Linked DNA regions of Homo sapiens: region 2 is linked to region 1. Evidence: promoter capture Hi-C in human tissues and cell types (Jung and others, 2019). All regions are on one chromosome and are shown on one strand. The core of a region is centred on a gene start or on the middle of the fragment in contact, and the rest is flanking DNA. Distances in the headings are between cores, read along the strand shown.

Evidence for each region. The method cuts DNA at HindIII sites, captures the fragments that hold promoters and counts their contacts. A contact is called where the count stands out against the background at its distance.
Region 2: a contact is called between a fragment that was not itself captured here and the fragment with the promoter of SCGB3A1 in region 1, in 1 of the 25 tissues and cell types used here (thymus).

The regions. Positions count from the first base shown.
Region 1 is chr5:180,589,420-180,594,865 of GRCh38, forward strand. SCGB3A1 (secretoglobin family 3A member 1) reads right to left here and starts at 2,080. Exons shown (of 3, transcript NM_052863.3): 1 at 1,992-2,080; 2 at 1,181-1,419; 3 at 686-835. The coding sequence starts at 2,043. The coding sequence ends at 812. It overlaps LOC124901154 (a long non-coding RNA gene), which reads left to right and starts at 3,751. Exons shown (of 2, transcript XR_007059088.1): 1 at 3,751-3,790; 2 at 4,474-4,849. RefSeq lists enhancers at 272-941, 942-1,611, 1,612-2,281. The HindIII fragment of the contact is 36,128 bases long and covers 1-5,446 here.
Region 2 is chr5:180,548,813-180,554,258 of GRCh38, forward strand. CNOT6 (CCR4-NOT transcription complex subunit 6) reads left to right here. Exons shown (of 12, transcript NM_001370472.1): 3 at 1,119-1,305; 4 at 4,574-4,659. Among named protein-coding and RNA genes, the nearest start is that of SCGB3A1, 40 kb to the right of the region's middle. RefSeq lists a silencer at 1-51. The HindIII fragment of the contact is 3,220 bases long and covers 1,177-4,396 here.

The DNA of each region.
Region 1 (5,446 bases), core at 830-3,329:
TACAGGTGTGCGCCACCGTGCCCAATCAAAAAATTTTTAAAATCTCGTGTGGATATTCATGATGGGGGGAAGACCTGCTCAAGCCACCTGAGGCAGAGTTATTCATCCCAGCAAGGAAGTCAACTGGGAGGCTTCCCCTGAAAGGGACACCGATGTCTGGGTTCCCTGGGCACCTTCCCACCAACACTAGATCAGTTGACAAAAGGTGGTCTCTCCGCTAGAGTAGAAGGAATCAAAGTCACTAGGTTATTTGGACAAAACCAGCAGAAACTGCAGGGAAAACAAGCCCAACAGCGGATTTCCTGAAGCCCTCATTCCTCCCCCATTCCGAGGAAGAAATCTACAAGTATAGAGGGAAAAAATAAAAACTTTCAAATTTTAGCAACAAATGGCTTTGGTGCGTTTGCATTCTCGCCAGTCTTCAAGGAGTAGATAATTTTTATGCTTCATAAACAGTTACAGAGCACAACAGGAAGAAAGACCTGCCAGTTTTGTTTCCAAATCCGGTTTACCTCTGATACTGGCCCCATCTCTGTCACCTTGCACTGCTGGCTCTATGCCACCTGCAGACTCTCGCGGCCTCTCTCTCCCTCTCTCACGCAGCACCCCTCACAAAATCTGGGACTTGGCACTCTCGGTCCCCCACAGGGATCAGCATTTGGATGAGAAAATACCAGGCTCGAGCTGCTCTTAACCACGTTTATTGAGAGGGGCCGGGGGAAGGGGATGGACGGTCCTCCCCGCGGCGGGGTTTTCAGCCCTCGCGGGTGGGCAGCGTCTTGTCCTCAGGTGTAGATGCTCCAGTCTCGGCTCAGCCAAACACTGTCAGGGCCCCCTGGAAAGCAGAAGCCGAGCTTGAGTGCCCCCAGCCCTGCCACCAAGAACTCAGGCGGGGGCGCGGCAGCGGCCGGCTCTGTGGGGAGCGGGAGCGGGGCGGTTCCGCTGGCGTCTCCGGGGGACGCGCACCCGCGCGGGGCCATCTCCGCCTTCCCCGCCCCTGCAGCTCGGATGCGCCCCACCCAGTTCCCACCCGGAGACCCGGGCTTCTCCCAGGGACAGGGCTTGGAGGGGCAGGACGGGAAACAGCCCTGACGTAGGGCCGGGACACCTCTGGTGCAGTTTTGAGGCTGGCCGGGAAGGGATGCCCGCGCAGGAAGGGCACCCGGGGTGCCCACTTTACCAGCAGGGCCTTCAGGGCCTTCACGGCCCCCACGGCCTGGGGACCCAGCTCAGCCACACACTTCTGGGAGCCCTCTATGAGGTGGTTCACGGGGATGCCCAGGCTGCTCAGCAGGAGCTTCAGCGGGTTGAGGGTGCCGAGGGGGTTGGCCAGGGTCCCGGCCCCGGCCTCCGCCGCCGACTCCAGCGCAGCGACAGGCTGGGCCACAGGCTTGGCCGAGCCCACTAAGAAAGCAGCAGCTGCAAGCGAACAGGGAGGGGTCACCGCCTGCGCGCCGGGGTCCCCAGAAGGCAGGTCCAGGACGCGCCCCCGCGGGAGGCGCCCAGGAACCGTCGCGCCCTGCCCGGCTCCCCGACCGCCCCTCCCTCCTGCGCCGAGGCCTGCCAGGTGCGAGCCCCCGGGACACAGGCGGGTCTGGGGAGGCGGCCCCGCCAGGAGACGCTGCAGGGTCACCGGAGTGGCCTGAGGGTGGCGGAAGGACCGGTGAACTCTGTGCAGGGTCCGGGACAGGCCCCCAAGGGAGGGGACACTCGCGCTGCGCCTTGCAGGATGAGGAGCCGGTCTCCAGACGGGGGGCAGACGGGTGTCCCCAGGCCAGGGGCGGCCTCCATCCCGGCACGAGGCTGGAGACAGCCCTGAGAGGGGGAGGCCGCGGGCTGCAGGCGCGGGGCCCCGGGGTGGCGGAGCCCTCTGGGCGCCGGGCGAGGCTGGAAGGACCTGGGATCCACGATCGGCGCAGGCAGCGGCGGGGGCGCAGCGGGCGCCGAGGCCTCAGGCCCCACCGTGCGCGCCAGGAGCCCGGGGCGCTCACCGGAGCTGCAGGACAGGGCCACGCAGAGCCCCAGGAGGGCGGCGAGCTTCATGGCGCGGGGGCTCGGGGCGCGCGGGGAACCTGCGGCTGCCCGGGCAAGGCCACGAGGCTTCTTATACCCGGTCCTCGCCCCTCCAGCGCCGGCCTCGCCCGCGCTCCTGAGAAAGCCCTGCCCGCTCCGCTCACGGCCGTGCCCTGGCCAACTTCCTGCTGCGGCCGGCGGGCCCTGGGAAGCCCGTGCCCCCTTCCCTGCCCGGGCCTCGAGGACTTCCTCTTGGCAGGCGCTGGGGCCCTCTGAGAGCAGGCAGGCCCGGCCTTTGTCTCCGCGAGGCCCACCCCGGCCCGCACCTTCGCTTTGCGGTCTGACCCCACGCGCCCCCCTGCAGGGCTGGGCCCGGGTGAGGGGAGCTTCCCTCGCGCCAGGGCAGGGGCGGGGGCGGCGCAGTTCCTGGCTCCCTGGTCCCTGCCTCTGATCCCAGACCGTGGCAACGTCGGGCACTGGGGGTCCTCGTGGGCGCCTTCTGCGCCTGGGGAGGTGGAGGCGCCAGGGACGATCAGGCCTCACTCCCGGCCGCCTCCCCGGCCGGGCCACAGGCAGCCACAGTGCAAACAGAAGTGGGGCGTTTTTCTGTCTTCGAAACTAGCCTCGACGCCAGTGGATGGGCCTGGTTTGTTCCTGAGTTTCTCTAAATGTCCTCACTCGTCTGTCACCTGCAGAAGTATGACAGATGGAGAGCAAAGCACATTTTGAAAACTTTTGCAAATGATACATAAACTAATTTGCTTTTAGTCCTTCTTCTTTCCTCTATTTTTTGACCCCAGGCATTGAGCACTGAGTGACTCACGTTTTGCTGCGTGGCTGCTCTCAGCTAGGTTGGTGCAAAGTCTCTCTTTTCTTTTGTAAAGTGTAGCTGGCACGCGTGGGAAACAGGCTCCCGGGTGGGAGGACCTGACTCTTCAGGCAGTGTCCTGGAATTCCTTCCCTATGGCTGACAGCACGTCTTAGCCCTCAGCCACCCCGAGCTACTGCGGCCTCCTCCGCACCTGCAGACACTTGTGCCTTTGCCAACTGTTGTGGCCAGGCACACGCATTCACACTGTTTCTGTTCACTTACACTTTTCCTTGACTATTTTGTTTGGGGGATTTTTGCATTATAAATCTGGAGTTTGGTTGTGTTTTGTTGGTCATCATGGAAGTAATTTTAATGGGAAATACGTTTTCTTTTTTAAAAACAGTTTGAAGTTAATTACTTTTTTGGTGGTGGTAAAGACACTGTCTTGCCGTGTTGCCCAGGCTGGTCTCGAACTCCTGAGCTCAAGCAATCCTCCCACCTCAGACTCCCAAGTAGCTGGGACTAGAGGTGTGAGCCACCACACTCAGCGGATTTTGATTTTGTTTTTTGTTTGTTTGTTTTTTGAGACAGTCTCACTCTGTCGCCCAGGCTGGAGTGTAGTGAGGTGATCTTGGTTCACTGCAGCCTCCACCTCCCAGGCTCAAGCAATTCTCCCACCTCAGCCTCCCAAGCAGGTGGGGCTATAGGTGTGCACCACTATGTCCAGCTAATTTTGTTTATTTTTTGTAGAGACAAAGTCTCACTGTGTTGCCCAGACTGGTCTTGAACTCTTAGCCTCAAGTGATACTCTTGCCTCAGCCTCCCAAAGTGCTGGGATTACAGGTGTGAGCCACCACGCCTGGCTTGATTTATTTTTATTTTTTCTAGAGATGGGGTCTCGCTACATTGACCAAGCTGGTCTCAAAATCCTGGCCTGAAGCAATCCTCCCGCCTCAGACTCCCAAGGTGCTGTGATGACACGTGTGAGCCACCCCGCACAGCCCAGCTTCACCATCTTAAGGGCACACTCCATTAGCATTAAGTATATTCTAATGTTGTGCAAACATCACCACAATCCATTTCCAGAACTCTTTTCCTCTTATAAAACTGAAACTCTGAGCCTATTAAACAACTCCCCACTCCCCTCCCCAAGCCCTTGGCACCACCATTCCACTTTCTGTCTCTGAATCTGGCCACTCCCGGCACCTCATATGAGTGGAATCGGGCAGTGTTTGTCTTTTGTGTCTGGCGTATTTCACTTAGCATGATATCCTCCAGGTTCATTCATGACCTTCAGAGTTTCCTTCCTTCTTAGGGTAGGATACTGCTCCATTGCATGGCTGTGCCACGTTTTCTTCACCCATTCACTTCACCCGTGGGTGGACATGTGGGCGCTTGCATGTTTTCACTGCTGTGAGTAATGCGGCCGTGAACACGGCTGTGCAAATGCCTCTTTGGGACCCTGCTGTTGGCTGTTTTGGGTGGCTGCTCAGAGGTAGAATGGCTGGAGCCTGTGGAACTTGCCTGTGTCATTTGTGAGGATCTGCCATCTCTCCCATAGCAGCGGCACCACGCTGCCTTCCCAGCAACAATGCACAAGGATCCCAGTGTGTCCACAACCTCATGATGCTTGTTCTTCTCCTGAGCAGGATCTGGCAGCCTTGGCCCAAGCAATCCCAGTGGGCGCATCTTGGGAGCTGACTTTGGGGCCACCTTTCCCCATGCTGCCTGGGGACCAGAGAACACTGACCGCGGGAAAGACCGATGCTGCCGAGGCCAGGAGGAGGGGGAGGCCGTCATCTGTGGGTCCCCAGCAGCGCTTGGGGTCCTGGCCACTCCAGCGGCCCCTTGCACCTGCCTCCAGGGATCCTTTGTCTTCAAAATAACCTCCCTCCACCTTCCGGCTCATAGTGCCTTGGGTGGATCTGTTCCCATTTCCCACAAGCCTGCAGGGTGGTGACAGGCCCTCATTCCCATGTGCCCCAAGATTTCGGATTCCAAAAATACATCCCCTGGCTCCCCGGAGAAGTGTGTCACGGTGTCTCCGTTTCACCACTGACAGGGCCAAAGGATGTGCTCTCCTCTCCCGAGCTGCCATGGTCAAGGCAAGCCAGGACTCACCTCAGGCTGGCCCAGCCCCTCACCCCACACTGGCTCTGGGGGCCACGGCTGGCGAAGCCTCTGCGGTAGTTGGGGATCAGGCAGGCCGAGGGTCTGGCCTGTGCCGAGACCTGCACAGCTGGGTCAGCGGCTGCCTCTGTATTCATTTCCTGAGGCTGCTGTGACAAGTCACCACATACCTGGTGGCTGAAAACAACACATTTACTCCGCTCGCAGTTCTGGAGCCCAGAAGTGCAGTGTCACGGGGGTGAAGGCGAGGCGTCGGGGGCCGCTCCTCCTCCAGAGGCTGGGCCTTCCCAGGAGCTTATCCACTCCTGGCCTCTCCCTGCTTATGGGGGCTGCCAGGGCCCCTTGGCTGGTGACTGCATCACTCCAGTCTCTGCCTCCTGGTCACATGGCCTCCTCCTCTTCTGTGTGTGTGGGTGTGTGTGTGAGGGTGCGTGGGGTGTGTGTGTGAGGGTTTGTCGGTGTGTGGGTGTGTGTGGGTGTGTGGGTGTGTGT
Region 2 (5,446 bases), core at 1,537-4,036, 40 kb before region 1:
AAAATTAATCAGTTCTGAAAGACTGGTATGTTTTTATTACATTTGTTTCATTCTCTCTCAGATTAGATCCTGAACCAGTAAGGAGATTATGGGGAACATTCTTAGATTGTAGAAACCATTGACAATTTATCAAGAAGTGTCAAAGTGCAGATTTACTGTTGCATTGAAAGGTTTTATCATTCTGTTCTTAGTCACTGAATCTTATGCCTACTACTATTTGATTATAAAGGTCTGACTTACTATCTGAAGCGTTTCTGGGCAAGTGTTTTTACTTGTTACCATATAATACAAAATGCTGCTTAGCCATGTGGTTCTTCATGCAGTTATCACTAGGGTACTCAGTTCTTAAAACTCAGCTAAGAGTACCTTGTGTTCCTTTTTGTTTTTAGGCAAAATTCTTGTTTTCTGGAGATATGAACAGCCTCTGAGATAGTAGAATTTGTGTTATTTTGCATAAGTCCAAACCAGTCATGACGTTCAGATATTGGATTTATCATTACTATAAATTAATCATATTTCCCTCTCATATCTGAGATCATTTTAAAGGATAAATTTGGCCGGGCACAGTGGCTCATGCCTGTAACCCCAGCACTTTTGGAGGCCAAGGCGGGCAGATCACAAGGTCAGGAGATCGAGACCATCCTTGTTAACACCGTGAAACCCCGTCTCTACTAAAAATAGAGAAAAATTAGCCGGGCATGGTGGCGGGTGCCTGTAATCCCAGCTACTTGGAGGCTGAGGCAGGAGAATGGCATGAACCCGGGAGGCGGAGCTTGCAGTGAGCCCAGATCACGCCACTGCACTCCAGCCTGGGCAACAGAGCGAGACTCCGTTTCAAAAAAAAAAAGGATAAATTATTTTTGTGCTCCTAAAAATAAAGATGCACTCTAAGTAGTATTGGTACATTAACTTTTTATTTTAACCTGCTAAGTGAGGAGCTTATAACTTAATCATAGCAATGAATCGTAGAATAGGTAAGATTTCCTGTTAACCCCTTCTCACAAGTTTTTGGATAATAATTTAAGTTACTCATAAAAACATCTAAATCTTACTGAAATCTACAGAACAAAATGTAGAGAAAACTATATAATCCGTTCCTGTATTTTTTTCTCTTACAGGAAAAGTAAGAAGCTTAAGCGCATCTTTGTGGTCACTAACTCACCTGACAGCTTTGCATTTGAGTGACAATTCCCTGTCCCGAATTCCTTCAGACATTGCCAAGCTTCACAATCTGGTGTATTTGGACCTGTCATCTAATAAAATTCGTAGCTTACCCGCAGAACTCGGAAACATGGTATCACTCAGGTATGCAGATTCAACTTAATACATACTAGCTATATGACCCCTAAAACAAAATATAGGCCGGGCGCAGTGGCTTATGCCTGTAATTCTAGCGTTTTGGGAGGCTGCGAGAGGATCATGAGGTCAGGAGATCGAGACCATTCTGGCCAACATGGTGAAACCCCATCTCTACTAAAAATACAAAAAATTAGCCAGGCGTGGTGGCGGGCACCTGTAGTCCCAGCTACTCGGGAGGCTGAGGCAGGAGAACAGTGTGAACCCGGGAGGTGGAGTGGCAGTGAGCCGAGATCACACCGCTGCACTCCAGCCTGGGTGACAGAGCGAGAGTCCATCTCAAAAAAAACAAAAACAAAAAAACATTTGTTGTGTTAGGAAACAAAACTGTTCATTTAATGGTATTTGAATAAAAGGAAACATAACTATATCCTTTATAACTTTATAGTTTTGTTTTTGGGAAAATTGAATGTCAGCTAATAATAAATTAAGTAGATCATTGGCTGAATTTTTTAATTACTGTATTTTGTGTAATAGACTTTATTTTTGAATGAGAAAGTTTGGACAGAGAGTGGGTAGACTGCAAGGTGCTTATGTTATCCCACATACTTCCTCATGACAAACAGGGCACCATACCATCCTTAACACAGGGTCCAGGAAACCATTGCCAGTTGGTGAAACCTTTTTGCCATCCCAGGGCTTGTATGTTTGATAGTAGTAAAGCCTGGACTTGAAGGAGCTATAATTATTAAATTTGGGGGCCTGTAGCATGAAATATATAGCATTTGGATTCACATGTGTAAGTTCAGGTTGGAATCTTAACTTTGCCATTTATGAGTTGTGTGATCTTGGACAACCTTCTTGACCCAGGATAAGGGATGTTTGAGATAATGGGTAAAAAAACACTAGTACCTTGCCTGGCATATACTGTGTTTTAAGAAATGGTAATTGCAGACTGCATGTGGTGGTTCATGTCTGTAATCCCAGTACTTTGAGTGGCTGAGGCGGGCTGATTGCTTGAGCCCAGGTGTTTCAGACCAGTCTGGTCAACATAGCGAGAACCTGGTCTCTACAAAAAAAAAAAAAAATCCCCAGATAATTAGCTGGGCTTCGTGGCATGCACCTGTAGTCCCTGCTACTTGGGAGGCTGAGGTGGAGGGATGGCTTGAGCCCAGGAGGTTGAGGTTGCAGTGAGCAGAGATCATGCCACTGCACTCCAGCCTGGGTGACAGAGCAAGACCCTGTCTCTACCCTCCTCCCCTCTAGAAAATAAGAAAGAAAAGAAATGGTCATTGCTATGTTTATTTTGATAGAGATGAGGGTCTCACTATGTTGCCCAGGCAGGTCTTAAACTCCTAGCCTCAAAAGATCCTCCCATCTTGGCCTCCCAGAGAATTGGGATTTCAGGCATGAGCCACTGTGGCTGGCCCATGATTATTATTATTATTTTACTTCTGTTTTATAAGGTAGATAAGATCTAACCAAGTTAATATAAAGCTAAATTCCATGTATTATGTTAATCCCAATGGAATATTTTGTACTATTTCATGTTAACTGACTTTTTGACATGGTTCCACTGGCTTTCCTGCTGCCTTCTGCCATTAGCCATGTAGTAAAAAGGAATAAGGACCTTTTGAAAGGTCTTTGCCTCTATTGCTCCTACTCCAGCCTTTTGACTTTTTTTTAGGTTTAATTGAGTTTGTTCTATGACTGTTTTTAGTCCTCTGAAACAAATTTACTTGAAGGACCTCCTTTTTCTTTTTCTTTTTTTTTTTTTGGAGACGGAATTTTACTCTTGTCGCCCAGACTGGAGTGCAATAGTGTGATCTCGGCTCACTGCAACCTCTGCCTCCGGGTTCAAGTGATTTTCCTGCCTCAGCCTTTCAAGTAGCTGGGATTACAAGCGTGTGCCACCATGCCCAGCTAATTTTTGTATTTGTAGTAGAGACAGGGTTTCACCATGTTGGCCAGGCTAGTCTCAAACTCCTGACCTCAAATGATCTGCCTGCCTCGGCCTCCCAAAGTGCTGGGATTACAGGCGTGAGCCACCGTGCCCAGCCCGAGGGACCTCCTTTTTTCTGTATATTGTATTTGGAAATAAACAGGAGCCAGATATCAGAACTTGCTCTTCTTGTTGAGTTTACAGCCACACAGACCTTCTGGCTTGCTCAGTAACCAAGATTCATTTAAATGTCAAAAACCAAAGATTATAGAAATAGATTTCTTGCACACTTAAAAAGTGACAAATAGGCTGGGCACGATGGCTCAAGCCTATAATCCCAGCACACTTTGGGAGGCCGAGGCGGGCGGATCACAAAGTCTGGAGATCGAGACCATCCTGGCTAACACGGTGAAACCCCGTCTCTACTAAAAATACAAAAAAAAAAATTAGCTGGGTGTGGTGGCAGGCACCTGTAGTCCCAGTTACTCGGGAGGCTGAGGCAGGAGAATGGCGTGAACCCGGGAGGCGGAGCTTGCAGTGAGCCGAGATCGCATCACTGCACTCCAGCCTGGGCAATGGAGCGAGACTCCGTCTCAAAAAAAAAAAAAAATTGAAAAATAAAACTGCATGCGTTACATTGCCACTGTGTCCGTATTGGGTCTCTGGTGGTTCTTTCCCCGCGTGTCCCCCCGGCTCACCCTTGAAGGTTCCTTTGATATTTATATCATGATTATCTCTGCAAAACAAATCATATTAAGAATAATCATGAACAGTTAATACAGCTGCTGTTATTTTTTAAATGCAACTTTAGTTGATAGCAATCATAAGCTTAATTATGCAGCTGTTACGAGCTCTTTTGAGTCGTTAACGAAATGATCATTTTAGTTCTCTTTTAAGAATTCACATGGTAGGCTGCTTTATCATTTCCACTTTCTTAAATGTGTAGTAGACCCCATGTGTACTAGACCAGTGATACTCAGTGTGGTCTGTGACCTGGTGCCAGTTTGCAAACTGTCTTGCCAGTCTGCAGTGAGATTAATACAGCAGTTGAGGAATTTTATATGTCTGTTAAATCTAATACTTTTTAAAAATTGGGTCTTACATTTTGTCCTTTTCCCCCATTATTTCATTTTCTCTAGTAATTTGTTTCTTGTATTCTCTGGCAGTTTTTTTTTTTAAACCACATGTTATTTAAGAAACGCAGTACTAGACATTGAAATATAACGTAACATTTTTTCATTCTTAGGTGCTTATGTTCCTAGAAACTATGTTGTTGATTTTAACTGTTAAAGGCTAACATATTTTTCTGACTTCCTGGAATTTTTACATCAACAGGGAGCTCCATTTAAATAACAACCTGTTACGAGTTCTACCTTTTGAGCTGGGAAAACTGTTTCAGTTGCAGACTTTAGGCCTGAAAGGTATGACTTCCATATTTGTACTTCTTATGGTTTGTGTATATGTCTTTGAATCTAAAGAAGCCAAGAAGCTTTCTGCTAGGGGATTCTTTTAAAGACTCATTTTCCCCCAGACTTCATCAGTTTCTTAGCTATATCGCAATGGTTTTATCTTCTCTGTTCAGCTGTAGACTATCTACTAGTCTTTGTTTTCTTTTTTTTTGCTCCGGACCCAGCCCTTCTTTTCTAGCCTCTGTTTTAATAAACCCTGTGTTCTGGTGATACATCCCTGAGGCTATGCTTTATTTCATCATGTTATAAACAGCTGTTTTTCTTAGATTCAAATCTCAAAAAACATGGAGCCTCTCATATAGTACAGAAAACAGGAAGTCGAAAATGTTGACCATTTGAACCTGCTGATGATCAAGATTTAAGCATATTTAAAAAAACTTGATTTATGAGGACTTGTGATTATAGGGCCATAATTGATCCAGCAAGAACTATTAGGAAATAAATATTTTTTAAGCCAACAATATTGAAAGTTATATTTTGACAGTATGTCAATGCCTATAAATTTTTTATCATGTTAAGCAGTTCTTCACCAGCCTTGGGTAGGTGTGTCTAGCCTACTGTACAGTTGCTTCTTCAAAAAAGTCACTAGATGAAGTCGTCAAGATTTGCACCCTTAGGCCGGGCACAGTGGCTCACACCTGTAATCACAAAACTTTGGGAGGCTGAGGTGGGTGGATATCTTGAGGCCAAGAGTTCAAGACCAGCATGAGCAACATGGCAAAACCCAATCTCTACCAAA